Regions from separate parts of the Homo sapiens genome. Here all the other regions are linked to region 1. The links are contacts of gene promoters, found by promoter capture Hi-C in blood cells and fetal thymus (Javierre and others, 2016). All regions are on one chromosome and are shown on one strand. The core of a region is centred on a gene start or on the middle of the fragment in contact, and the rest is flanking DNA. Distances in the headings are between cores, read along the strand shown. Region 1 holds the start of ITGA6-AS1 (ITGA6 and PDK1 antisense RNA 1). Region 2 overlaps DYNC1I2 (dynein cytoplasmic 1 intermediate chain 2). Region 3 has its middle 18 kb from the start of DYNC1I2. Region 4 has its middle 70 kb from the start of CYBRD1. Region 5 has its middle 40 kb from the start of CYBRD1. Region 6 overlaps SLC25A12 (solute carrier family 25 member 12). Region 7 overlaps SLC25A12 (solute carrier family 25 member 12).

Region 1 (3,448 bases), core at 887-3,386:
GGGACATCACTGGAATAGGAGTGGAGCAGACCTGTGGGGACCCTTGTGGCCCCGGCCTTGCCTCTGTCCTCTGTCAAGAAGGTTCAGGCACCAAGGACACTGCTCCAGTTCCTAATTTAAAAGTCTGTGTGTCAGTTCTGTACCTTGGTGTGTGCTGTTTTGTTCCTTCAAATGTAGGGTGGGTTTGGAGGTGGGGGCTGACTGTGACTGTCCAGGGATCTGGGAGGAAGGACAGTGCTGGGGCTATGTGTTATCCATGAGCCACCCCTCCTTCTCTGTCTGGGCATCATCTGGCCCCCCTCCCTGCTTTCCAGGTACACTTGCCTCCGGTGGCACCTGCTGCATGATATTGGTTTAAAAAAAATATGTTGAATCCTTTATTGGAATGATTCCTTTATTGGGACCCAACAGGCATGAAGGTAATAGAGACTATTTGGTTTGTATTTTCATTTGTTTTGCTTTTGCTTCTGAGATTTGTGGGTTTCTTGATGGCCAGGAGTGGCTTGTTTTCTGTTGTAAGAATTTGTTGTTTGTACAGGTTCGTGTTCCCAGTCCTTTTCCTCAGCTCCAGCCTTGTTTCCAAAACTCTCAGCTCTTGGTTTATCTCTGTCCAGTCAGGTGTGTGTTCTTTGTCTTTGTTTCTTGTCCTAGTTGTTCCATGAGTCAGCCAGGCCTCAAAGATTGTAAACCTGATGGTGAGTAAAGGTGTTAGCAAAAGAGACCTAGCAACAAGGTCATTGGATCTCTAAAGAGCCTGTCAAGCTGTGAGATGGTGAAATTTTAAGGACTGTGGATTTGGACTGGGGGCCTCCTTATAGGAGATAAAAACACTCGGCTGGGGAGAAGAAGGAATATTACAGTGCCTAGTACATAAGTGGAGCTACACCAGTTGTCCCTGAATCCTTTGTGGGAGACTGATAGGATGAGAGAGGACGAACTCTTGTAATGTGACAAAAGTGCAAGGAAGTAAGAACTGACTTGGAAGAACAAACATCAACTTGTACACCTCAAATATATCTGCTTTTTATTTGTCCATTCTACCCTAATAAAACTGGAGGGAAAAAAAAAAAAGAATTGGAAAGAGGCCAAGGCTGCAAGTGAATAATTCAGTCGAGTTGTATCTTACTTACCATTAGGTTCTCTCAATTAGTATATAAACTGAAAATCTAAGATATAGTCAGAATTACCCTTGAAAACTACCTCAGGAAGGCACAGTGTTAGAAACTGACATATTATTGCTTATTACATTTAGTGTGGCCATTTTTTCCTTCCATTGTCACAAGTATTTGGTTTCTTCTCTTGAGTTTCATATGATATCCCTGGCATCATAGGGGCTTAGAGGTTGTATTCTTTGAAGAGGGTGTCTTTTAAACACCAGATCATACCCAGCAAGAAATGCTGATACTATGAGAGACAGGCCTATTTTCCTCGTTTTGGTATCCCCTCTTTGGCTTCCCCTGTTTAGTTGTGTTTGTGCGTTTTGCATGAACCAGCCATAGGACTCTACATTTGTTCTCACTCACTGCCTAAGCTGTTGAAGAATTAGTGGACTCCTAGACAAAGAATAATCCCACTATCTCCTAGTTCTGACTGATTTAACTGTTAAACGTATATTAAATTCAAATCTCCAAATTGTCTCTGTTTCATCAACAGGTTGCTCGTGGGGGCCCCGCGGGCAGAAGCGCTTCCACTGCAGAGAGCCAACAGAACGGGAGGGCTGTACAGCTGCGACATCACCGCCCGGGGGCCATGCACGCGGATCGAGTTTGATAACGATGGTGCGTTCCTTTCCCTCACTCAGCGTTCACTCCGGCAGCTTGCCTGTACTGTTTCCATGAGGGAGGAGAGTGGGGACAAACATTTATTCTTGTAGAGAGGACTTCTTTTAATTGCATCAGACTTGACTGTTTTTTATTTGCCCTGAAAATATTTACTTACTTTACTTCTGAATCATACTGGGATGCCGCGTGTTTTGCTGCTCCTCCTAACCGTGGTTTCTAAACCGATATGGTGTAGGGATGTTGCCACCTAGTGATGTGTTGAGGTTCTGCAGGAGGTTGTGGAAAAACTCATTTCATAGCAATGAAGAGAATGAATGAGCGTATCTTGTATTCATCAGCCAAAAGTTCTCACATGCTGTTAAAATATTTGGGAGAAAGACAGTTTTAAATATCAGACCCCTTTGGAATGAGAGCTGGCTAACAGAGATAAAGTTTTCCCTCCTGTCTCAGATAGAGACTTGTTTTGTTAAGGGCTCTGGATAGGTAGAAGATACCATGAGGTAGGCATGTTGACATCCAGTGTACCTGGCTTCTTGTAGGTTGAGCAGAGCAATTAGTGTACTGAGAAGCTCTAGCCAAACCTCGTTTGATATGTTCGGTCTAAGTAGATTTGCAGATTCGTGTCTATGTTCTTCTCTTGCTTCTTCATCTTTTAGAAATAACATTTGTTGGCCAGGCGTCGGTGGCTCACACCTGTAATCCTAGCATTTTGGGAGGCCGAGTTGGGTGGATCATTTGAGGTCAGGAGTTCAAGACCAGCCTGGCCAACATGGTGAAACCCCATCTCTACTAAAAATACAAAAATTAGCCAGGCGTGGTGGTGTACGCCTGTAGTCCTAGCTACTTAGGAGGCTGAGGCGTGAGAATTGTTTGAACCTGGGAGGCAGAGGCTGCAGTGAGCCAAAATCGTGCCACTACACTCCAGCCTGGGTGACAGAGCAAGATACCATCTCAAGAAAAGAAATAACATGTGTTCTTTTATTAGAAACTAATATGTGTTAATTTTAAGAAGCTGGTAAAATACACAGACCTATGAAGAATAAAAAAACCCACTGGCAATCTCAGTATCTAGACTTATTTTTTAACATTTTGGCATTTTTCCTTCTGTCTAAAGTTGTTTAATGTTTTTGTAATGATTCAAGATTAAAACCTGTGTCTGTATTGCTACTTATGGAGGAGTGCAAAATTTGGATATAGGTCACACAGTGGGTTTAAATTGATACTGAAATGAGCACCTGGTGGTGTTTGTGGTCCCCGTCTCTCTGACTAACAGTAACTCTCCTGTTTGGCATTGATACATTGTCAGCTACAAGATCCTAAAGTAAATCTGAGTCTTTTTCTTCCATCTCCAGTAAAGAAGAGAACATTTAATGCTGTTAAATAAAAAAATTGGGGAGTATATAGAGAAGTACCCATTTTTTTTGTTAGTTTGGATGGTAGCTGCAGTTTGGAATACTAGATTTTACATTGTTGCCTTAAGAGATGTATTTTGGAGGGCTCCCTTAGTCTTACAGTTTCACTTACCTTCTGCATTCAGGACCCTAGGTATCAAGAGAGGGCAAAGGGTATTGTTGGACAAAATAGGCAACTATATAGAGCTAAGTACTTTATGTTTCAAATGTTTGAAAGATTCCAAAAACCACATCTCTGTTTCCTTGAGATGACAA
Region 2 (3,517 bases), core at 249-2,748, 740 kb before region 1:
TTCAGTCGATTTTCTTCTCAGCAGGTGAAAAGCTTCTCTTGGCAAGAATGTGGTGCCCACAGATACACTCCTGGAAAAGTTACTTTCTTTACCTTTTTAAAAGTTTTAACTCTTTTGAAAAAATGGCATTATTTTTTCTTATTCACTTCTTCTGTATGGATTTTTTTTTTTTTTTGGCTATTTTTTGAAAGATTATTAAAGGAAAAAGAAATCCTGAAGGTTACCTAATCTAATCAGCTTGTTTACTCTGAGGAAACTGAGGTTCAAGGAGATTACTTGGTGAGTCTAAGTCCACCGTCTGAGAGAATATCGGGCATACATCCAGAAACTGGCACTTGATTTCTAGTGAAGTACCATTTTTCTTATTCCATTCCACTTTCTTATCTGTGAAGGAGTTTATAATTACTGTTGGTATTGGCTTAGTAGCCAGATATGTTTTCTTCAATACCTGTTGATTAGCTTTATTGTGTGTAGAATATTAATATATGTGATTATCTTGTAATCACTTATTGCATGATCTTAACATTTGGAATTCACTCCCAGAAGACCAAATTTGTATGCCTTCTGGTTAATACATCTACCTTATCTAAAATGGATTTTTCTGTAATCCTAGCACTTTGGGAGGCCGAGGTGGGGCAGATCACCAGAGGTCAGAAGTTTGAGACCAGCTTGGCCAACATGGTGAAACCCCATCTGTACTGAAAATACAAAAATTAGCCAGGTGTGTTGTCACATACTTGTAATCCCAACTACTTGGGAGGCTGAGGCAGAATTGCTTGAACCCAGGAGGCAGAGGTTGCATTGAGCCACGATTGTGCCATTGCACTCAAGCCAGGGCGACAGAGTGAGACTATGTCTCAAATAAATTAATTAAATAAAATGGATTTTTAAAAGATTTTGGAATGAATAACACATTTAATAAATTAGTTTTAACCCTCAGAGGACCTATAAGAATATAAACAAAATTGAAAATTGAAGCATTTGTTCTTAATCTTGATTGAAAGACTAATCAGCATATCTGAAACCCTGGCCTCAGAAAAATATAATATTTGATGAAATCACAGATAACAAGACCTATGTAAGGGTGCTAATACTGCGAAAATAAAACCCAAATTTTATATAAAAAGGACTGTGACTGGTCAAGGTGGTGTGCACCTGTAGTCCCAGGTACTCAGGAGGCTGAGACAGGAGGATCACTAGAGCCCAGGAGTTTGAGGCCAGCCTAGGCACATAGCAAGACCCCATCTCTTAAAAAAAAAAAAAAAAAAAAAAAAAAGAACTACAGAGAGACAAATTTTGTGTTAAAGGAAGTGGTATAATTAAACTATTAGTCTTTTCTTATTTTCCCCCCAAGTTAGCATTACATCTGTATTGAAATCATTAATGATTAAAAAGTCAGCTGTGTATTTTTCCCTTGTTGAAGAGCCAAAGAAACCCAAGTGACCTTGCATCTTATTCTAGATGGTGTAAAAAAAGAAAGGGAATGGATTCCATTGATAGATTCATGAAACTTTGTCCCAATGAAGATTCTCTTTAATATGCATCTGATTTTAAAGAGTAAGGTATAAGAAGATGAAGTGATGGACAAATGGATTGAAATAGAGTGATTCAAAATGAAGCTGACCCAGAAAAGAAGGGATTTTTTGAAAATATTAAAGGAAAATCATTCCTATGTAATCTGTATTTTTAAACTAATGATTAAAGCATTTTCCTCTAATATTTTCATAGCTGTTTGTGAAGTTATTCATAAGTTGAATTTTTATAAGTCAAATCATATTTTTATATGCAGCAAATGTCCTGACTTTTAGAACTCAGTGTCAGCTTCCTTTATACCAGGAATAACCAGACTACCTTGTAAGTTAGGGATTTTTCATAGGATATTAAGTTATCTTAAAATGGGATGCACCAGTACAATAAAACTACATAGTAAATTGATAGACAACAAACATATTTCCTAAACAACAGTGCACTAATGATGGGATTTGTTTTTCACTTCATATTGAGATTTAATCATTAAAAGTGATAGATTCATAAGTAGCAATGTTTGTTCAGTAAGGATTTTCTAAGATACTGTATATTACCTTTTAAATGTCTTGTAATATTTTAAAATAATTCAGAGTATGCTTTGTGGCATACTCTTAGCTTATCTTAAATGTATCTTAAATGTAAAATGTATCTTAAATGTACTGTGAGGTACAGATGAGAAAACTTGCTCTGAAGTCTCCTTCCTTCAGTTTAACAAAAGCCACCCATTTCACAGATGATTTAACTTTGATTAACTTACTCCATTGTAAGAGATTATTCCAACAACTGGAATTTCATTCTTTCGTGTTACTTGTAGGTGCAGCTTAATTTACAAAACAGCTTTTCTTTCTGTCTCACCAAAATACATCACAATTTTGATGTTAACTCAAAGTAAAAATTCAGTGGTTCATTAAACCTAGTTTTAGCATTCATTGACAAGAGATTTGTCATTTTAAAAGTAACTGCTACTTTTATGCACTCTTTACTGCTCAGTTTATAACCTTAGATTCCTTGTCAGAGAAAGCGTGGAGTTAACCACTTTAGCATATTGTAATGAATATTCATCAATAAATTGATGTGACATGGCAGCCCCATTTTTCAGTCTTCCTGCTCTGTTACAGTCTTTTCCAGTTTTAAATATAGCTTATCATGTAATAAGGACTAGCTTAGAAAATCTTCAGAACTGTAATTTTATATTTTTGGCCACGTTAATAGTCCTTTGGTAGCTATCATATTAGCTTATAACAAGAAAAGCATATTTGTTTCAGAAGAACATTTTTTAATCTGATGTTATTGATGTTAGGCATTTTTGCCAAATATTTGGTAAATTTGATAATTATTTAAGATCAACCTTATAGCAAAAAGATTGCATTTTACAGTTTTTAAGAACAGCATTATCATTTGTTTTTATGTTCCTTGAAATTTATTTAATCATTTTTATGAAGCTTAAGTACCAATGATAGTTTTAAAGTCTGGTTTTAATCCATGTAGAAAGGGAGGGTATGTACTTTAATTCTAAAATAAAACCCTGAGAGCATGTATTTAAATAGTTGATACTCATGATTCAGCTACAACTGAAATAATTTATATGGACAAATAGGCATGGCAAATGCTGTATAGTACACAGATATAGATCACTGTCTGACATATTTCATCTACATTTTAAATTTTAAAAGGAAAAGAGTGTCTATAAACAAGATCTTTTCTGTTAAATATGTAAATTATGAGGTCACTTAGCACTAAAGTACTGACCATATGCATTATGACAGGAATTTGACACCTGTCATTGGAAATGGTACTTAGAGGCCGTATAATACAACAAAGTTGAAGGAGGAGAATAAGATGTGGGTAGGAGGCTGTAATTTATAATTCATAGTGCTCAAGAATGACCTGTCCTGGGTGATTCAAAATTCCTATCTTTGATTTTAGGATTTACATACAGTGAAACCTACTAGTAAACACTTGATTAGGATAACTGGTAGCATTAGCAGAA
Region 3 (3,702 bases), core at 492-2,991, 800 kb before region 1:
TGCTATCTCAACCTTAGCAAGCAAGAGTACAATTTAGCACTTTTCCTTGATGATTAACTGTCCAAAGGCCAAGAAAATGTTGATGGTTAGGCAAGGGAGAGAGTATTTCTACTTTATATTTTAGCTTATGTTCACAGCATAAACTACTTCATTCACACGAAACTGAGAAAAAGCTAGAAAAATCTTACCATTTTAGGGACAACTGTTATGACATGCATGAGTCTCCCTAAGTAAATCTAACATAAATAAATAAGATACATTAAAAGATAATATACTAATTCAATCTACTTGATGCATTGTGAACATAAGATTTGGCCGGTCATTTTTATAGGAAAATCTGATATTTAGAAATATAACAGATTGCACACTGGTATTATGTCTCTAATCATCTAAATGAAACAATGAGCTAATTATCTATAATGACTCACTACTATACTTTCAACACCTTTAGGGATCAATTTCACCCAAAAGTGAACTAAGCCAGTACCACATGGTCTGCTCTCAAGCAGTGACCTCTCTGATTCAAATGCAAAATGCTATTGCAGATGAAATTCACTGGTACAAAATGTTCAATAGAAAGATTACATTTCCAGTGGGGCAGAAAGATATTTGCCAGCATCTCATTAAGGCTTCGATACAAAGTCTTGGATTTCAATCAGCATCGAGATAGAATGACAATAATCCAGTAGCAAGAATGTAGCTAGGGCTTTGTTTCTGTAAGCATTATGCATTTTTCCCATCTACAATAAAATCTTGAAAAAATTCCAAGAGAATAGATATGGAAAGAAATAACCTTGTAGTCATTTTAATGTCAGCCACAGAATGCGTTCTGTGAAGCCTCTGCGGCCTGATAACTTTGCCTCTCACTCAGGGAGGAGAAGGTGACATCATTTACATTTAGCCCAACACGTGAAAAAGGCTGAAATTCTCTGCACCATAAATGTGGCATCAATTCTTCCGCCTCTCCAGCCCCACCTCCCATCATTAATATAGTCCAGCCATTTTATCATCAGCATTTTATCTTTTTCCCCTAGAAGTAATTTACTGACTTAATGGAAATGTGAGAGATTTGCTTTAACAGATTTTACGAATTTAAGCAAAAGGTCCTGCTGAACATTTCTCTGTGGAGAGAGGTTATTCTTTGGCCAGGAGACATTTGTAATAGTTCAGTAATCTAAAAAGATTTGCCTTGGACTTGCTAATTTGCTCAATCTCTTAAGTAACAAAAGGGTCTAAACTCTGCCTCTCAATTTAAAGTGAGCCCCATAAAAGCTTCCAGCTTAGCAAGAAATCTAAGATTCCACAATGTGAGCTTTTAACCCCATTTCAATTTGTGCAAGTGTAATATCATTAGGGACTGATTTCTACTACAAGGTAGTTGTGGCTTTTCATGGAATTTAGTTCTTTATCTGAGAGGTGGCATGGTAGTGGAACACACAGAAGAGGACAAAGTACTGCAGAAATAAAGTTTGTTTTTCCTGAAGGATCAGAATCTGGGAACACTGCAAATTCATAAGAAAGCCTCATTCCTATGAAACTTTTGGTTAAATACTGCCAAGTAAGAATTGGCAAAATCTGGATTGGACTTTGATTAGGGGGTGAAAAATTCAACTGTACTCTTCTTCATTTTCATGGTTGAATCTGAAAAGGATACAATTAGGCAGAATTGTGTCACTGTATTCGCAGCTGTGTCCCCAGTAGCTAGAACAGTGCCAGGCACTAGGATACTCAATAAATATTGTCTGAATGAATACACTGCAATAGAACAGAGTCATCCTCATTGTTTAGTCATGGGAAGAAACAGTTGCTTTGCCTCGGGTTGTATCAATAGCCAGCCATTCTTTGACTGGCTTTTTGGGGCTGGTTGCTGCAGCTCCTTCTGCATCCAGACACCTTTTTCTGGAATCAGCTAATCCAACTGTGCAACTTCATGGGAAAATGTGTAATGAGTAATGGGGCCTCTTAACCGGGAAAACAAATAGAAGAAAAATAACCTGTGAATTTATCATCTTGCCCCAAACCTTGGTACGTTAAAAGAAATCTACACAATTGAGAGCCATATTTGCTGGAATTCCTGAAACAGTTTTGATTTTAAGTGTCTTGTCTCCCTGTCCCTTAAGTCATTGGCTGACCATGTGCTCATCACAGTTAGACTGGAAGGTAGGGAGAGGGAAAACTAAGATAGCAGGAAAGAGGTAAGAGGCTCTACCCAAGCTTAATTTGAACTAAATTATCTCCTCTAGATATGTCATTCTGTTAATTATTAAAAACTCCATCAAGTATGGAAAGCCTCCTACAGGTATGGTAAAAAGGTAATACCAGGAGCGGCAGGACTAATTACAGTTGCCTCATAAAGTACGTATGAAGAATCGGTAGCTAAGAAAATACAACACATTTTGGAAACTTGGAATAGTTCAGTTTGACAGAAATATAAGCAAGAATGTTTCCTTTTCAATATTATCTTTATCTCTGGTAATATTCTTCCTAAACACCTGGCCACTTCTAGTACAGTTTTTCCTGATCATTTTGTACAGGCACTGTCCGAGGACCTTACCTGGCCTGTCTCATTGCAGCTAGTCGTGTTTATTAATTGGCTAAGTCATACTGAAGTCTTTCAACTTCTGGAACCAAAGAACAACAACAATAAAATCACTTTGGGTTAGAATAAAAGTTTCTGGAAACTACTACTTGCCAGAAGCAGAAAAAAGAAAGAAAGAAAAGAAACAACACTTGCAGGGATTTTGCCTTTGTAAATAATCCCTGCTTTTTTATTTTCAAAATAAATACGGGTAAATTTTTGTCTTAATTGTAATTTTTGCCAAAATAACACACATATATCATTTACACAGTCAAATAGCAATAGAAAGGTCCTGTCCTGAACCTCCCCACTAATAATATCTGTACTTTTAGCTGTTTCTTCTAGTATTTTGATTTTTTTTTCTGACTTCCTACTATGGTAGATGAGAATTTGATTCTTACCCAGATACAGCCCCCACATCCCTCACCCCCTGGTACATCTTCTTTCTCTTTTCATCCTCTTATGTAGTTTTGGCATAATTTTCATTCAACCAATATTCAATGTTTACATTATTATCATTTTGTTAATATTATTCAGAGCTAAGCTACATAGTATACTATAAATACATTTTCTTTATGGTATAATAATTTCCTCATATTTTTATTTGATTAATTTGCTATGAGTCATCATTAAACTCTCTGAAAGACATATAAATATCCCTCCAGTACATTTGAACATACCAAGTAGTCTAGCAGTTTCATTATAATCATTTTAGCCATGTCTCCACTGCATTCTCAGGCTCATATCTGGCTTGTGTCCAGACCTGCTGTATGCTAAGAACTCCCTTCTGCCCTGGCCTAGACAATTCTTTCCAGGTCCCATGTCTTCTTCCTTGGAGTACTCCCTTATTTTGTTGAGCAATGTCATTAAAATTTCCTTTTTTTACATATTACAAATTTGTAATAATATTAAAAAATGTTCTTTTGGGTTTTTTAAGCTACATATTTTTCTGTTTGGAATTTTAATGCAACTTGCATACTACCTGAAAGTCAAAGATCACCAGAGCTTTTCAGACTGCCCTTTAAGAACTCTTATTCCATTAGCTTAAGAAACAACCAAAAACACATAGTTAGAACTGTTCTTGTTGCTATGAGAAATACAGAGAAAAATATGAGACATATATG
Region 4 (3,557 bases), core at 635-3,134, 870 kb before region 1:
GTCTAATGAGTAGAATACAGCAAAAGTGATAAGATGGCACTTCTGAGATTAGGTTTCAGAAGACTGCCTTCTCCTAACTCTCTCTCTCTCTGTTCTTCCTGATAACTTTAGAGAAGCACATTGTTGAAGCAAACTGCCCTCTGGAGAGACTGTCATGGCAAGGAATTGAGCATCCTCACCAATGAGGAAAGGAAGCCTGCAGCTCAATAGCCAAGGAGGAACTGGCCTTGCCAGCATTCATGTGAGTGAGCTTGGAAGTGGATTCTTCAACAGAGGATGATAGCAGCACCTGCTGCTCATAGCAGCCTTGTGAGAGCCCCAGAAGACCCAGCCAAGCCATGTCCAGATTCTTCACCCACAGAAACTGTAAGATAATGAATGTATATTGTTTTAATCTGCTGAATTTTGGGGTAATTGCTTATGCTGCAATAGATAATTGATAAGGTTTGGCTGTGTCCCCAACCAAAATCTCATCTCGAATTGTAATCTGAATTGTAATCCTCATGTGTTGGGGGTGGGACCTGGTAGGAGGTGATTAGATTATTGGGATGGCTCACCATGCTGTTCTAATGATAGTGAGTTTTCAAGAGATCTGATGGTTTTATGAGGGGCTTTTCTCCCCTTCTCTCCACACTTCTCTCTCCTGCCACCATGTGAAGAAGGATGTGTTTGCTTTCCCTTCTGCCATGATGATAAGTTTCCTGAGGCCTCACCAGCCATAAGGAGTTGTGAGTCAATTAAATCTTTTTTCGTTTATAAATTACCCAATCTTGGGCAGTTCTTCATAGCAGCATAAGAATGGACTAATACAATAATTAACACACCTGAGTATAAATCCTAGCACAGACCTTCCCAGCAGATGAGCCAAGGCATACTGGTATGCAAAATATGGATTACAGGTGAACCCAAGATATTGATCCTTTAACTACTGGGGATGCCAAGGGCAGGTGGGTCAGGTTGGGCCTGGGATTACTAGAGTTTAAGGGCAGGTTATCCCCAGTAGAGGAAGCATTCTAAAGCATACAATAATTTGGATTTACAATGGAAAGATAGTTTTTAAAGACTGAAAATAGGAGAGAGAATAGAAGAATAAGGTCTAAATAATCTTTAAGTCTTCGGAAAATCTAAGTAACCAATTCTTCTTTGCTGGAAAGAAATGAAATCTATGATATTTAGAAATCCCATTAAAATAAAGTTATAAAATCTCTCACATTTAGCCTTTGGGTAATTCATTTTGTTAAGTGGATGTGCAGAAAGGAGGCAGTTTCCCTTAAATGGAACCACTTAGGGGTCTAATTGGAGGTCCGATCCCTTTTTGCAGAAGATGTTTTTTTATCTGCTGAATACAGTTAACTCTCCTGCATGTCCTCTCCCTGGTTTATTTGCTTACTCTGGGAAATGAAAGGATGGCGTGGTTTGTGAACCAGGAGTTGTTATTCTTTGCCTGCATATCATGTTGGCTTTTTTTTGGTAAGAAAAATCACAAGAATATATGAAGTTTTTTTATGAATAGAACCCTTTATTTTTAGGAGAAAATGGATGGAACAGTTTGGGGCTTTGGGGCCGCCTGTTGCTCTTGTGTGAGCACCTCCCACTGCCTTGACTTTACTCTGCTGCATACTCGGTGCCAGGATTTACATGACCTCGGTGGGGAACAACTGGATTTAGCATAAGTAAGAATAACTGCTTTTCCCCTGGGGAGAGACAAAAAGGATAAGTGCATAAGGCACAGAGACAATATTATCGGGAGTTATATTCCTGTTCGGCTCTTTTATTCACTCTGAATTCTGGATTCTGTTGCAAATAATGAAAGCAAGAAGCTAGCTGGCTTGGAGCCAAGGTCTGGGATTAGCAAAGACTATTTTATTTGGGGCTAAAAAATATGTGTTCATTAGTGATGTTCTATACGTTGCACATATGGCCATCGGATTAAAAATCATTGTTTGTTTTTTTTTTTTTTTTGGTAAATTGATATTGCCAAGAAAGCACAGTTAATAATTTGAACTAGGCAGGGAAAGGTGAGTTTCTGCCACTGTGTCTACCCAGGATGAACGCAGAAGGTGTCTGTGCACACCTGTTCCTGCTTTGCCACACATTCTCAGGTTGCCCCATATTCTCTGGGCTTGGGTTGGACAGCTATCATCCCCATAATAACCTGCATCCTTTTCTCTCCCTTACTTCCAACCGTGAGGTAACTTTGACACGAACACCCTAAAATCTAATGTCAGTTTTTCCTTTTTACTCTCACCTTAAATATCCTGTTTTTCTTTTCTCATAAAACCATTGAACGAGTTGCAAGACCCCATTTTGAACTCAGCCAGACCCTGGTTGGAATCCCAGCTTCCCTGCATGCTACTGTCTCCAGGATCCTAGGGGAAATTATTTAATTTTCCTTCACTTCAATTTCCTCATTGATAAAGTGAAGAATAATCATATACATCTCATTGGGTTTTGTGAAGATTAATGAAACAAGAATAAAGAGTATTATATTGCATTGTACCTAGTAATAAAATTTTATCTTGATCATTAATACAGGGTAAAGTGGTAGTCAGAGGGAAATTTATAATTTAAATACTGATATTAAAAATAAGAAAGCCCTTAAAACCAAAATAAATCTTCCACTTGGAAAGTGTAGAAAAAAACAGTGTTTATATTATAAAAATGATGACTTCCATTTTTGGTTGTTTGAAAGACTAGATGTCCGGAAAAAGTCTTCTGGTATGGAACTAAAATTCTGGATAAAATATATTTTTAAACTTTCTAGAAAATACTTGTCTGAACTCTTGGGGGGAAAAAAGGAAGATCCTTGCCATAGATAATAAGAAGGTAAAAATCCAGGCCAGGCTCGGTGGCTCACGCTTGTAATCCCAGCACTTTGGGAGGCCGAGGTGGGCAGATCACGAGGTCAAGAGATCAAGACTATCCTGGCCAACATGGCGAAACCCCGTCTCTACTAAAAATACAAAAAATTAGCTGGGCGTGGTGCCACACGCCTGTAGTCCCAGCTACTTGGGAGGCTGAGGCAGGAGGATTGCTTGAACCTGGGAGGTGGAGGTTGCAGTAAGCCGAGATTGTGCCACTGCACTCCAGCCTGGGCGACAGAGCGAGACTCCATCTCAAAACAAACAAACAAAAAAGAAAGTAAAAATCCAGAGACTTAACCTCTCTAAAGCTGGTGTTTGCCATGACAGCCTATCTGACTGTCTTCGGTGGCACCTGCGGGGGAGGATAGACAAAAACACGAGGCCTGTGAAAGCCAAGAGGATGGACTAGAAAACATCACGTGAAGCCAGAATCCCAGAAATATTACTCTAGGTATGTTCAAAAGGGTTGAACAGAAGTGTGGGGGGTGCCCGAGAGACAGAGATGTAGAAAAACTTACCAATCATCTCTAGACCGAAATGAAAATTATAAATGGGAAAGAATACTTGGAGAATGCTAACCACAAGTTTGTTATCACAAGTGTTTAAGCCAGAATTTACACCATCTGTATTACCTACCCACCAATAAATCTAAGTCAAATATGTCGTTAAAAGAGCATCCAAATATTTAGCTAA
Region 5 (3,825 bases), core at 362-2,861, 900 kb before region 1:
CTATCTGCTTGATAGTTTTGAAAAGGCCTGGTCCCATAAATAATGATTTGGCCATCTGATGGGTGCTATCAATGGCTAAGTGAAAGGTTTGGTGAAGGGTTTTAAGTAATTTCCATTGGTTAGCTGCAGGCAAAAGTATTTTCCCTTCTTTGGTGGCTAGCCATCCTGAGGGGAGGAAACTATGTCCCCGTGAGGTTCCCCATTCTATTTCTCCTGCTGAGTACAGAGGGGATTACCCCACACTAGGGGTCCTTCTACAAGCATTTCTAATGGAGGGTCCCACCTTGTGGCTCTTTTGGCTTCAATATCCACTTGGCAGTTCCCTTCCGATGACCCCGACAGTGTAAGACTGCCACCTCTTTAGGTTTCTGTACAGCTAATAATAATCTCCTAATGGCTTCCTGATGTTTGATAGGTGTTCCCTCGGAAGTTAGGAATTCCCTTTCTCTCCATATTGCTGTGTGGGCATGGAGGACTAGGTAAGCATACTTAGAGTCTGTATATATATTTACCCTTTTTCCTTTTTACCCTTTTTCCTTCTTCTAATTCTGGTGCCCAAGTGAGGGCTATTAGTTCTGCCAGCTGAGCGCTAGTTCCTGGAGTGAGGGGATTACTTTCAAGTATTCCATTATCACTGACCACTGCATACCCCGCTTTTCGAAGTCCTTTTTCTACAAAGGAACTTCCATCAGTATACAAGTTGAGGCCAGGATCAGTCAAGGGAATCTCTAGAAGGTCCCCTCGAGTGGTGAAGGTTTGAGCAATTACTTGTTGACAGTTATGTTCTATTTTTTTCTTCATTGCCTGGAAGAAATGTGGCTGGATTAAGAGTTGCACAAGTGTGCAGTCGCAGCACTGGTCCCTCAAGTAATAGAGCCTGATGTTTAAGCAAATGGTTGTCTGACAGCCACAAGTCTCCACACAGTGAGATCTCTTCCCTGTATCATTTTAACTGCTTCAGATACTAAGACTGCTACTGCTGCCACTACCAGTAAAAAATGAGGCCAACCCGTTGTCACTGCATCAGTTTCCTTACTCAAGTATGCCATGGGTTGCAAGCTGGTCCCTCGGACCTGTGTAAGGACTCCTAGAGCTATTCCTGTTTTTTTCTGTTGCATATAAGGAAAAGTCTTGCCCTGTTGGCAAGCTTAACACTGGGGCTTGGTTAGGGCCTTTAGGGCCTGGAAAACCACTTCTGCTTCAGGTGTCCATCTTACTAAATGGGTATTGGCTTTCTGAGTTTTCTTAATTAGTGTATATAATGACCTGGCTATTTCGCCGTACCTGGGAATCCATATTCGGCAGAAGCCTGTTATGCCAAGGAACCCTGTTAGTTGCTTTAGTGTTTTGGAATGAGGATAAGCCGGTATAGGCTGGATACATTTCTCACCAAGGGCAAAACTTCTGGTGAGTGTACTCTTTCTGCAGGAAGTAAAAATGGCCTTACTAAATAAATTAAATTTATGTTCAAGTACTATTTCTTTACAGCACCTGGGAACAAGCATTTCAAACAACTCCTTACCATTTATTCCCCGGGTCCACATCTCTTCTTAAAGGAATGTGGACTTTCTTCCATGATTATCGGCTGTATGAAGAACTGTCTTGGAACCAAGAGAATACATCTTCATAGGATGCAGGCTTCAGGGAGCTAGAATAGAGGAGTGGGGAGCACAAACTGAAAAGGGTTCCCCTCACTCACTACAGAGGCACAACCCGTAAGGCCAGCCATTCTAAGGACAGGCCAATTTGGGTGGGTGAGGATGCTCGATACGGGAGCGGTCCAGGAGCACATGTCTGCCGACCTTTGTTCATGTCAGAGGTAGCCCACAGGGCAGTGCTCATTTATATCACCAATCCATAAGAATACATTTTTGTTTTGTCAAAAAGACAATGTCTATAGAATTATCTGAAACCTGTTTTTTCAGATCTGACTAGAGTGAGTTAGCTATGATCACTTTCCTTCTGGTAGCCACTCAAGGGGCGTGATAGGCGAGTGAGGTTTATAGAGTGAAAGGAAGACGGCTCATGCAGGATTTGGCTGGTGAGTGTTCTATTAGGGTGAGAATTTTGGAAGGAGAAGCTTTCTGATTGACTTTCAAATACAGTTGGCAATCTGGTTGGTATAATATCTACTGGTACATAACTAGGAAATTTCTAGGCTGAGTGGAATAGTATGAGTTTTTCTGTTTCAACGGGAAGAATATCTGGTTGTCAGCCTCAGGGTCAGAACTGTACATAAGCAATCCCTTAGTTTGGTGAATGTTATGGCAGAAATTTAGTCTGAAGTCTAGTCCAAATAAATGTTTTCTATATTCTCATATCTATTTATATGAATCTTATCACATTAAGGCTAGACTGAGACATGTCACAAATTTCTCTCTTGTGGAATGAAGGTGAAAAAGAGAAATATAAGCATTGGGTGAATGTTGAAATGGATAAGTTCTGAGATTCCTCTTAAAGTTTAGATTCTGATGAGATTTCCTGAACAGGTGCCTCTCTTGTGGCTCAGGTACCAGAGGGACTCTGTAGAACTCCAGGGGGCCAGGCCCTAGCTCAGCCCTGGCACACACAGGCAGGCCCTAGAGTAGCCACTAGTGATGAAGGAGGAGGGCAGGAAGCATCCTTGCCCTCCCCAACCCACGACCTGGCTCCCTGTCTCTATCAGCGCTCACATTCCCCATTCAAACCTCTAGGTCTTGAGCAGATTGTAGGAGGTTCTGGCCCAGTGAACTCACCTGGAACACTCAAATGAAGGAAGTAAAAGGGTGTGAGGCAAGAGGAGCAGTGACAGCCTTAAGTGTGAGCTAATTCACCCCAAGAGCAAGCAAAAGTGCAAATAAAACTCAAGGGTGTGGAAAAGTGTGGAGTGATGATTAGGATTCAGGCCTCTCCTTGCCTAGCCTTCCTCCATTCTCTCTCTCTCAACCTCTCACTCTCTCTCTCTCTCTCTCTGTCTCTGTCTCATTTAACAGAGCACTGGATTGCGAATGGAGTGCAAGTAGAGACTGAGAATCACCACTGTAGTGATTGTATCTGTGTGGCAAATCATCTTAAAGATTTCTTGTATTTGGAAACAATGTCTAATAAAGAATGGCCAAATACAAAGTTACACTATACAAAAACTATGTCATCAAAAATTATATTGTTCAAGTGAATAATTAGCAATATGAAAATATGTTCATAAAATATTAAGTGAAAGAAATTGAATATAAAAGAGTTTGTAAATGTGAATGTGCATACACTTTCAAATAACTGGAGGCATAATATACCAAATAGTTAATTAGTTAATAATGGTTATCTTTGGCCTGGTGTGGTGGCTCATGCCTGTCATCCCAGCACTTTGGGAGGCCACGGTGGGTGGATCACCTAAGGTCAGAGACCAGCCTGGCCAACATGGTGAAACCCTGTCTCTACTAAAAGTACAAAGGAAAAAAAAAAAGACAGATGTGGTGGTGCGGGCCTGTAATCCCAGCTACTTGGGAGGCTGAGGCAGGAGAATCACTTGAACCTGGGAGGCAGAGCTTGCAGTGAGCCGAGATCGCACCACTGCACTCCACCCTGGGTGACAGAGCAAGACTCTGTCTCAAAAAATAAAGTAAAATAAAATAAAATAATGTTAAAAAATGGTTATCTTTGAGACATGGTAGGATAATGGGCATTTTTCATTTTCTTCTTTTTGTTTTCTCTGTATTTTCTATAATTAAGTATCACTTTTGTACTAAGAAAAACATGTATTATCGGAATCCCGTCTGCCTCATTGACATCATCCAAATGTTTGCTTAGTCTAATTTATCAAGAAATTGAAGATAATATATTTATAATTGA
Region 6 (3,478 bases), core at 926-3,425, 640 kb before region 1:
TGGTCTCAAACTCCTGGGCTCAAAACAACCTGCCCGCCTTGGCCTCTCAAAGTGCTGGAATTACAGGCACAAGCCACTGTGCCTGGCATACTGTCCCTATTTAATAAATGAGGAAACAGAATGAGAGGATGTTACATAATCAGTGGCCAGGCTCTTAACTACTCTCTCCCTCATAACTTCTAGTTCTGGACTCACAGATTCTCCATCATAAACAAGTGTTTTCATAACAACTTTCATAAGGTGAGATAACAAGACATATATCCTTCTTCCTATTTTATATTTAGGTTTCTAATAGATTCATATAAGGGAATACTCTGCATAATAAATGTAAGTAATTATGTACTTCTAATTTGGCAATATAGGAAAAATTACAAGAGAATCAAATCAAGATATCTTCTGGAAGTAACATGGGAATAGTTAAGGTTAGCATTACTGAAATTCTGTGAACTAAAGAATGTTAAAAACTGAGTCACTAGGATTGTAGTCTATATGGCTGCCTTACAATGCCTCATAAACCTGAAATATGTTAACTGAGGAATGTTTTTTCAAGGCTGAAAATTGAAGAAAGTTTATTCCATTACTTTGGTTGCTATAAGAACTTAAGCATATTTTCATATTATTCTACTTGAGTCCAGCCTGTATTCCTTATAAAATTTTAAATGTTACAAAGGAAAAAGGAGGATAAATTTAGAATTCTGAAAATAAAATCCATTGATACATACCATTCTACAGAATGCAGGAGCTTGAAGGCTTCTCAGAAATACATGAAGATACTCACTTTATTAAAGGGAAAACTGAGTCCCAAATAAACTTGTATCAAATCTCAAGGACAGTAAAGATCAGATTTCACAATGGCCATTAGTGGACATTAATCTGAATCCTTAACCTTCACAAATCTGTTTCTATAAAATTCTAATAATTATTTATTATTTCTGTTGAGTTCTATTTTCTCAGATTTTGTTCCTATAATAATGTACAGGAAAATATACACTTAAGACCTTAATTTTTATTTCTCTGTACCTAATCCTCAGTAGAAAGACTATCTTCTATGTGAGAGGAAACATCAAACATTTTAGCTGAGTGCAGTGGCTCACACACACTGTAATCCCAGCACTTTGGGAGGCCAAGATCAGTGGATTAATGTAAGCTTAGGAGTTTGAGACCAGCCTGGGAAACATGGCTTAACCCTGTCTCTACTGAAAACAAATTAGCTGAGCATGGTGGTGTATGCCTACAGTCCCAGCTATTCAGGAGGCTGAGGTGGAAGGATCACCTGAGCCGGGGAGGTCAGGACTGCAGTGAACAGTGATTGTGCCTGGCTGACAGAGTGAGACCCTGTCTCCACAAAAAAAAAAAAAAATTGTCCTGAGACTCTGAGGTTCTTCCTTTGGGGACAATGTAAGAATACCTAAGACTTCTACCAGCTCTCCAGAAATTCTAGATCCCTGTACTATCTCACTGGTTAAGGAAAGGCAGAGAAAGCACTCCCCATCACTCTGGATACCAATCAGAGACCCAGGGAAGAAGAAAATGGTGGTTTTTATCACTGCCCATTTCCTAAATATCTGAAAAGACCCTTGAGGCCACCCATCCCAGCATAAAAGCATCAGCGCTGCCACTGAAGACAGGCAAATCATCTTGAATCTGTCTTAAAAAGAATTCACAGCAGTAGCAAAATTACATCACTTTCCTAAGGATGAAGAAATGTGAAGGATGCAGACTCAGGGTGCCAAAGATTGCAAAACAAGCTTCAGATATGGCCTCTAGGAAAATTGCTAGGGGCAAGAGAGGTGGGTGAATAGAAAAGTAAGCAGCAGAAAAACTGAGGAGGAGAAATGAGTTGAGACTTTTAAATTCAATGTTTTTAATAAGCTAAATGAAATATTCCCCAATTACAAATATTAAGGAAACCTCCAGGGAGAGCTATATCAATAGACACATGCAACACTGCAAAATATCTTCTTTTGAAATGCAATTTTTCAAAATTCAAGAGCAAATTTTCACAGATGTATAGGCTACAAAAAATAAAATTAAATTCAGTAAGAGCTCTTTAAATATTTCAATGTCTCTTAATTTTATTAAAAATTTTTCACATTCTTTCCTTTTATTAAACATAATTTTATAAAATTTTATTTTTTTAAAATCACTGAATTGAAATAAATCCATCTATTTTTAAAGGATCTGAGACCTCCTAATGGAAATAAACTTTTTTCTTTTTTTTTTTAAGACAGAGTCTCACTCTGTTGCCCAAGCTGGAGTGTAGTAGCACAGTCACGCTCACTGCAACCTCAACTTCCTGGGCTCAGGTGATTCTCCCTCCTCAGCCTCCCAAGTAGCTAGGACTACAGGCACACGCCATCACGCCTGGCTAATTTTTTGCATTTTTTTTTTGTAGAGATGGGGTTTTGCCATGTTGCCCAGGCTGGTCTGGAACTTCTGGGCTCAAGCAATCTGCCTGCCTCAGGCTCCCAAATTGCTGGCATTACAGGCATAAGCCACTGTACCCAGCCTGGAAATAAACTTTGATGGCAGCAGATAAAAGAGTTTTTCTGATACAAAAGAAGCTAAATTGCAATGAGTTACAACATATTTTAATCTGTAGGAAGCTTTATTACACATCAAGCAAACAGTTAAAGTATTAATACAAAATGCAGATATAATGGTTTCTTTTCCATTTTCAATTTACTTCAACCTGACTACAAAATGTTCTTGTTCCTTATGTAAAGTAGAACTGTAAATTCTAATTAGTTTCACAGGCAGAATCATCATTCCATGGAGCTCAAGTAGAAGAAAGGTTTCCTAACCAAGTCTTCCCAAAGCGAACTACACTTAAACATATCTTGATGTTTCATTAACACATTTGGTGAAGGTGAACAATAACAGCAAGCCAACCCTGGCTACTCACCAATGTGGCAGCAATGAAGAAAGAGCAGACATAGCCTCTTTCTATAGCATGCACATTTAGTAACTGTCTCTCTCTCTCTCTCTCTCTGTATCCTGTCTTCTTTATCCATGCCCTCCCCACGTCGCCTTGCCTAGTATGGCATCACACTCTCCTAGAGAATTATGAGGAACACAGGTTCCATGTCTATTAGAGCAGGAAAGTACCAGGAGGACAATGACTGGCCCTCCTAACCCTTACCCACACACAAAAGCAATGTGATCATCTGCTACCACTGAAACTTCCTAAGTGCTATAGAAGTGGAAGTTTCAACTTAAAACGAGATTTATTAAAAACTGTTCCATTCCACTCTTCAAGGTAATTTCATGGATTTTCTTTTTCTTACCAAGATAGTATTTGTAAAATCAGAAATGGGATTGTATTAATTTTATAGGACTCAGAAGCTACTGTTTTAATCATTCTTAACATTTATAAAAACCAAAAGTAATATTTATCAAAAATGTAATTAACAGTCAGGGTTTTCTTTCTGGTTTCACTAATTACTTTTTTTTTCCTGGCTGTAATCTGTAAGGCACA
Region 7 (3,648 bases), core at 1,032-3,531, 670 kb before region 1:
AAGATTAGTTACCTAGCACACATACCAAATCCCAACAACGCACAGGACATAACCACAAAACTCAATTGATGTGCATTTATAAACACATATAATCTAGCAAGTAAGAGTGCAAATAATCAATGACACTATAGCAAGGCACACATCTGTAAGTTTGTTTCATGCCTATGTTTGAAGGAGGAAAACTTCTGACAATTAATGATTTGTATATGTTTTAAAAATTAACATACAAGCCAAGTGCAATGACACATGCCTGTAGTCCCAGCTGCTCACAAGACTGAGGCAGGAGGATTACTTGAGCCCAGGAGTTCAAGGCCAGCCTGGGCAATGGAGCAAGACCCCTATCTCTTAAAATTTTTTTTTTTTTAGTAATTAGTATACATTTTTAAAACCTCATGATAGGCCTAGGAACATAAGGCAAATACTTTCCAGAAACGCTGAATAATTTTAGCAAAGATAAAGACTGCAAAAACCGCAGTTACTTTTGTACCAACGTAATAATTTGTCTAAAACTCTGGATGTTTATAATGCTTAAAGGGAAACACACATGGCAAATATGCACTGTTCTTTTTCGGATTCTGAGGTTGACCACTCTCTCTATCCTACATATTAAACTGGGGATAGGGAAGGGGGAGTAAAATCTGAGATTAGTTCAATTATACTGGTAATAAATCAAGCAACTCAGAATGAGGGACTATGATGTTATCAAACTCTTGAACTGGGTGTTTCCTCTCTGCGAAACAAATACAGAGAAATACCATATTTCTTCTAAGACTCTATTGATTATAAATGATATCATTAATAACAGCTTTCCAAAGGGGAAAAGCACTGCTTGCAGTAAATATAATCTTTAATATAGAGAATTTCATAAATACAGTAACTTTTCAATAAAAAATAGTACCTGTATTTCTACAAATATGCTAATGTTTGCTATTTTTAATAGCAGCAAAATTGAACAGGAAGAAATTCAAATTCCCAATAAAACAGCTAAGTAGATACAATTCTATGCTATTAATTGGGCAATATGATTTGATAATAAAATCACGCCAAATGACAAAAACAGAACATAAAATATTAGGCACACATTTGATCATAAATATGTCAAAATTTACCTAAGTTTCTCAAAACCCAAGTGGCTTAAAGATTAAAACATTGATTGCCTCCTGGAAAGAGAAACTGAATAGCTGGGAGAAATAATTTTCATAGCATACTCTATTGTACCTTTTAAATTTCAAAACATATGAATGTATTAACTACGCAACAACAACAAGAAACAGACCTGGTCTTAGAAACAATGGCTTCTTTATAGACTAAGTCTTCTCTCGCATATTCTTCTTCATGGTAAATTTGGTAATTTGGCAAATATATTTTTTAAACTGGTTGGCGTTAGTTACTGTGGACCCAAGGTTTTTTAAAAAGCTTATTATATATGAACATCAAAAAACCTAATCAAATATAGCTAGTGACCTGAAATAATCGACACTAAGATATATAAAATTTTAAATTAAATCACAATGATACACAGCTATATAAATGTAAATGGACATTGCTAAATTTGGCATCTTGCTGCTTCTGTTACTAATGCTTACATTAGATAACATACCACTCTATATCATACCTTTGCTGAATTTTTTTCACTCATGAAATCACCAAAATTAGCTTCTAATTCTCTAATTGCTTAAATTTCCCGCCTATTTTTTAAAAGAGATACAAACATTAATACTAAAACAGACTTAGATGCTTTCTATTTTTCAGTATTCTGTTGTCATTTCTTTGTTCTAGAACTGAGTTTAAAAGATACATAAAAGAGAACAAATCTCATTTTGAATGAGGGTTACCCATATATAACAGAAATGGAAAGAATAAAAAACTTCCATTTAATCTTATATCATATGAATTTTTTAATGAGAAAATCAACTAAAGCTGACAGCAAAAGTTAGCGGGGAAAAGGATGTAATTTTGAGATGTCACCATGCCTCCACAGTGCCAAAGGCCGAGGGGCTGTATACAGGATTAGGCCTATTCAACCTTCTGCCCTCTCAATCCTACCCCTGGGGCAAGGTTCACAAAGAGGTTGGAGGCTGGGCCCTGCTTGTGCCAAGTCCTTTGTTTATTTCCTTCTTTGATCTGTTGTCTCCTATAGATTGAAATGATTTCCCTCCAACCACAAAATATCCAATCTAAGCAACTCATTATAAAGTCTTCCCTTATCGAGACTGATGAAAATCTAACTTCAATTTATTTAAGGTCACATCAACTCCAGATGAACACAGTATGTGCGTATAAAATAACCAGATAAACAGTAAAAGTCACAGAACTAGCTGTCACTAGGACTGACTCAAGAGGAACAGGAACAGACAGTGACTCAGCCTTGCACACCACCAACCGTTCATATTTTTGTAAAGCAATAGGAAATGCTATGGTTCTTTCTAAAATAGGATAGTGATAGTTTAAAAGAAATAAATGCAATGTGCTCATTGCTGAGTGATGATATATGCGAGGGTGTTACAAATTAACACTACATATACTCCTAACTAGGGTAAGGGAAGTGCTATGATCCGAATATTGGTGTTTCCCCACAATGCATATGTTGGAACTAATATCCAACATTATAGTATTAAGAAGTAGGGCCTTTTGGGAGGTGATTAAGTCATGATGGTTCTGCCCTAGTGAATGGGATTAGTGCCCTTATAAATGAGGTTGAAGGGAGCTGCCTTGTCTCTCCTACCATGCAAGCACACAGCAGCAAGGTACATGCAAGCACACAGCAGCAAGGTACATGCAAGCACACAGCAGCAAGGTGCCATCTTGGAAGCAGAGAGCAAGCCCTCCCTCACCAGACACTGAATCTGCTGGTACCTTGATCTTGAACTTCCAGCCTCCAGAATTGTGAGCAATAAATTTCTGTTGTTTATAAATTACTCCATCGAAGGTATTTTTTAATAGCAGCCAAAATGAACTAAGACAGCAAGAATGAAAATCCCTGTGTACCTATCATAAGCCACTTTTGACATAAATATATAAGGATTTTCAACTTGTATGCATATCTATATGTGTTCACATAAGTATGTAGGCATAAAGTTGGACTACACTAATTCCTGGGGATGAGAGGTGGAAGAGCTGTTTCCAAACTACTCTTTAGAGATATACAAGCTTGGCTTGCTGAGGAAGACATAGAATTCTTCATCATAAGGAGCTGGCTAGTTACAGATCTTGGCCCCCAGGATTAGTAAATGCTCCGCCTAACATGTGGGCTTTTTGCTTTACCGATATGAAGGGAGGGTGTGTGTATGTGGTGTGTGTAGACACATGCTTAAGCTGAGAAAAAGCATGGGAGAGTTGAAAGATTCTAGGTTTGGAAGACTACTGACCTAGATCGTCATAGATTTTGCATTCGGCATAACCATTCCATTCCCACAACCATGCTCTCTGCCTCACCGAGGTCTTGTGCACTACTAACTCATTTGAGAGCACTATGCAGACTGAAAGCAAGACACAAAGGGAAAGAACGTGTTCTCCAGAAAGTGTGTTCGCATAGGGTTGTGAAAATTCACCTGCAACATTAGCACTTTGCTGAGTAATAAGTTTTGAGTTTCATGACTTCCATCCACTCAGGAGTATATACTCTCTGAAAGAGGTAATGCAGTCAGC

What was found. Contacts are between HindIII fragments. The CHiCAGO score rates a contact against its expected background, and 5 or more counts as called.
Region 2: a contact is called between a fragment that was not itself captured here and the fragment with the promoter of ITGA6-AS1 in region 1, in 11 of 17 cell types (total CD4 T cells, fetal thymus, naive B cells and 8 more). The highest score is 11.2, in total CD4 T cells.
Region 3: a contact is called between a fragment that was not itself captured here and the fragment with the promoter of ITGA6-AS1 in region 1, in 2 of 17 cell types (total B cells and erythroblasts). The highest score is 9.1, in total B cells.
Region 4: a contact is called between a fragment that was not itself captured here and the fragment with the promoter of ITGA6-AS1 in region 1, in 4 of 17 cell types (total B cells, naive B cells, neutrophils and 1 more). The highest score is 12.2, in total B cells.
Region 5: a fragment that was not itself captured here is called in contact with the fragment with the promoter of ITGA6-AS1 in region 1 in 1 of 17 cell types (total B cells); the score reaches 6.0 in total B cells.
Region 6: a fragment that was not itself captured here is called in contact with the fragment with the promoter of ITGA6-AS1 in region 1 in 1 of 17 cell types (activated CD4 T cells); the score reaches 5.0 in activated CD4 T cells.
Region 7: a fragment that was not itself captured here is called in contact with the fragment with the promoter of ITGA6-AS1 in region 1 in 2 of 17 cell types (activated CD4 T cells and naive CD4 T cells); the score reaches 7.0 in activated CD4 T cells.

The regions. Positions count from the first base shown.
Region 1 is chr2:172,463,886-172,467,333 of GRCh38, forward strand. ITGA6-AS1 (ITGA6 and PDK1 antisense RNA 1) reads right to left here and starts at 2,137. Exons shown (of 2, transcript NR_157573.1): 1 at 1,939-2,137; 2 at 377-689. ITGA6 (integrin subunit alpha 6) reads left to right here. Exons shown (of 26, transcript NM_000210.4): 2 at 1,654-1,778. It overlaps PDK1-AS1 (PDK1 and ITGA6 antisense RNA 1), which reads right to left. Exons shown (of 4, transcript NR_199657.1): 4 at 381-689. RefSeq lists an enhancer at 2,378-2,547. The HindIII fragment of the contact is 13,641 bases long and covers 1-3,448 here.
Region 2 is chr2:171,719,872-171,723,388 of GRCh38, forward strand. All of the region lies in intron 7 of DYNC1I2 (dynein cytoplasmic 1 intermediate chain 2), which reads left to right. Among named protein-coding and RNA genes, the nearest start is that of DYNC1I2, 34 kb to the left of the region's middle. The HindIII fragment of the contact is 2,937 bases long and covers 31-2,967 here.
Region 3 is chr2:171,667,547-171,671,248 of GRCh38, forward strand. No RefSeq gene overlaps it. Among named protein-coding and RNA genes, the nearest start is that of DYNC1I2, 18 kb to the right of the region's middle. The HindIII fragment of the contact is 942 bases long and covers 1,271-2,212 here.
Region 4 is chr2:171,590,531-171,594,087 of GRCh38, forward strand. No RefSeq gene overlaps it. Among named protein-coding and RNA genes, the nearest start is that of CYBRD1, 70 kb to the left of the region's middle. The HindIII fragment of the contact is 7,737 bases long and covers 1-3,557 here.
Region 5 is chr2:171,560,714-171,564,538 of GRCh38, forward strand. No RefSeq gene overlaps it. Among named protein-coding and RNA genes, the nearest start is that of CYBRD1, 40 kb to the left of the region's middle. The HindIII fragment of the contact is 933 bases long and covers 1,146-2,078 here.
Region 6 is chr2:171,822,599-171,826,076 of GRCh38, forward strand. All of the region lies in intron 9 of SLC25A12 (solute carrier family 25 member 12), which reads right to left. Among named protein-coding and RNA genes, the nearest start is that of SLC25A12, 70 kb to the right of the region's middle. The HindIII fragment of the contact is 858 bases long and covers 1,747-2,604 here.
Region 7 is chr2:171,796,294-171,799,941 of GRCh38, forward strand. All of the region lies in intron 13 of SLC25A12 (solute carrier family 25 member 12), which reads right to left. Among named protein-coding and RNA genes, the nearest start is that of SLC25A12, 96 kb to the right of the region's middle. RefSeq lists an enhancer at 1,866-2,396. The HindIII fragment of the contact is 1,734 bases long and covers 1,415-3,148 here.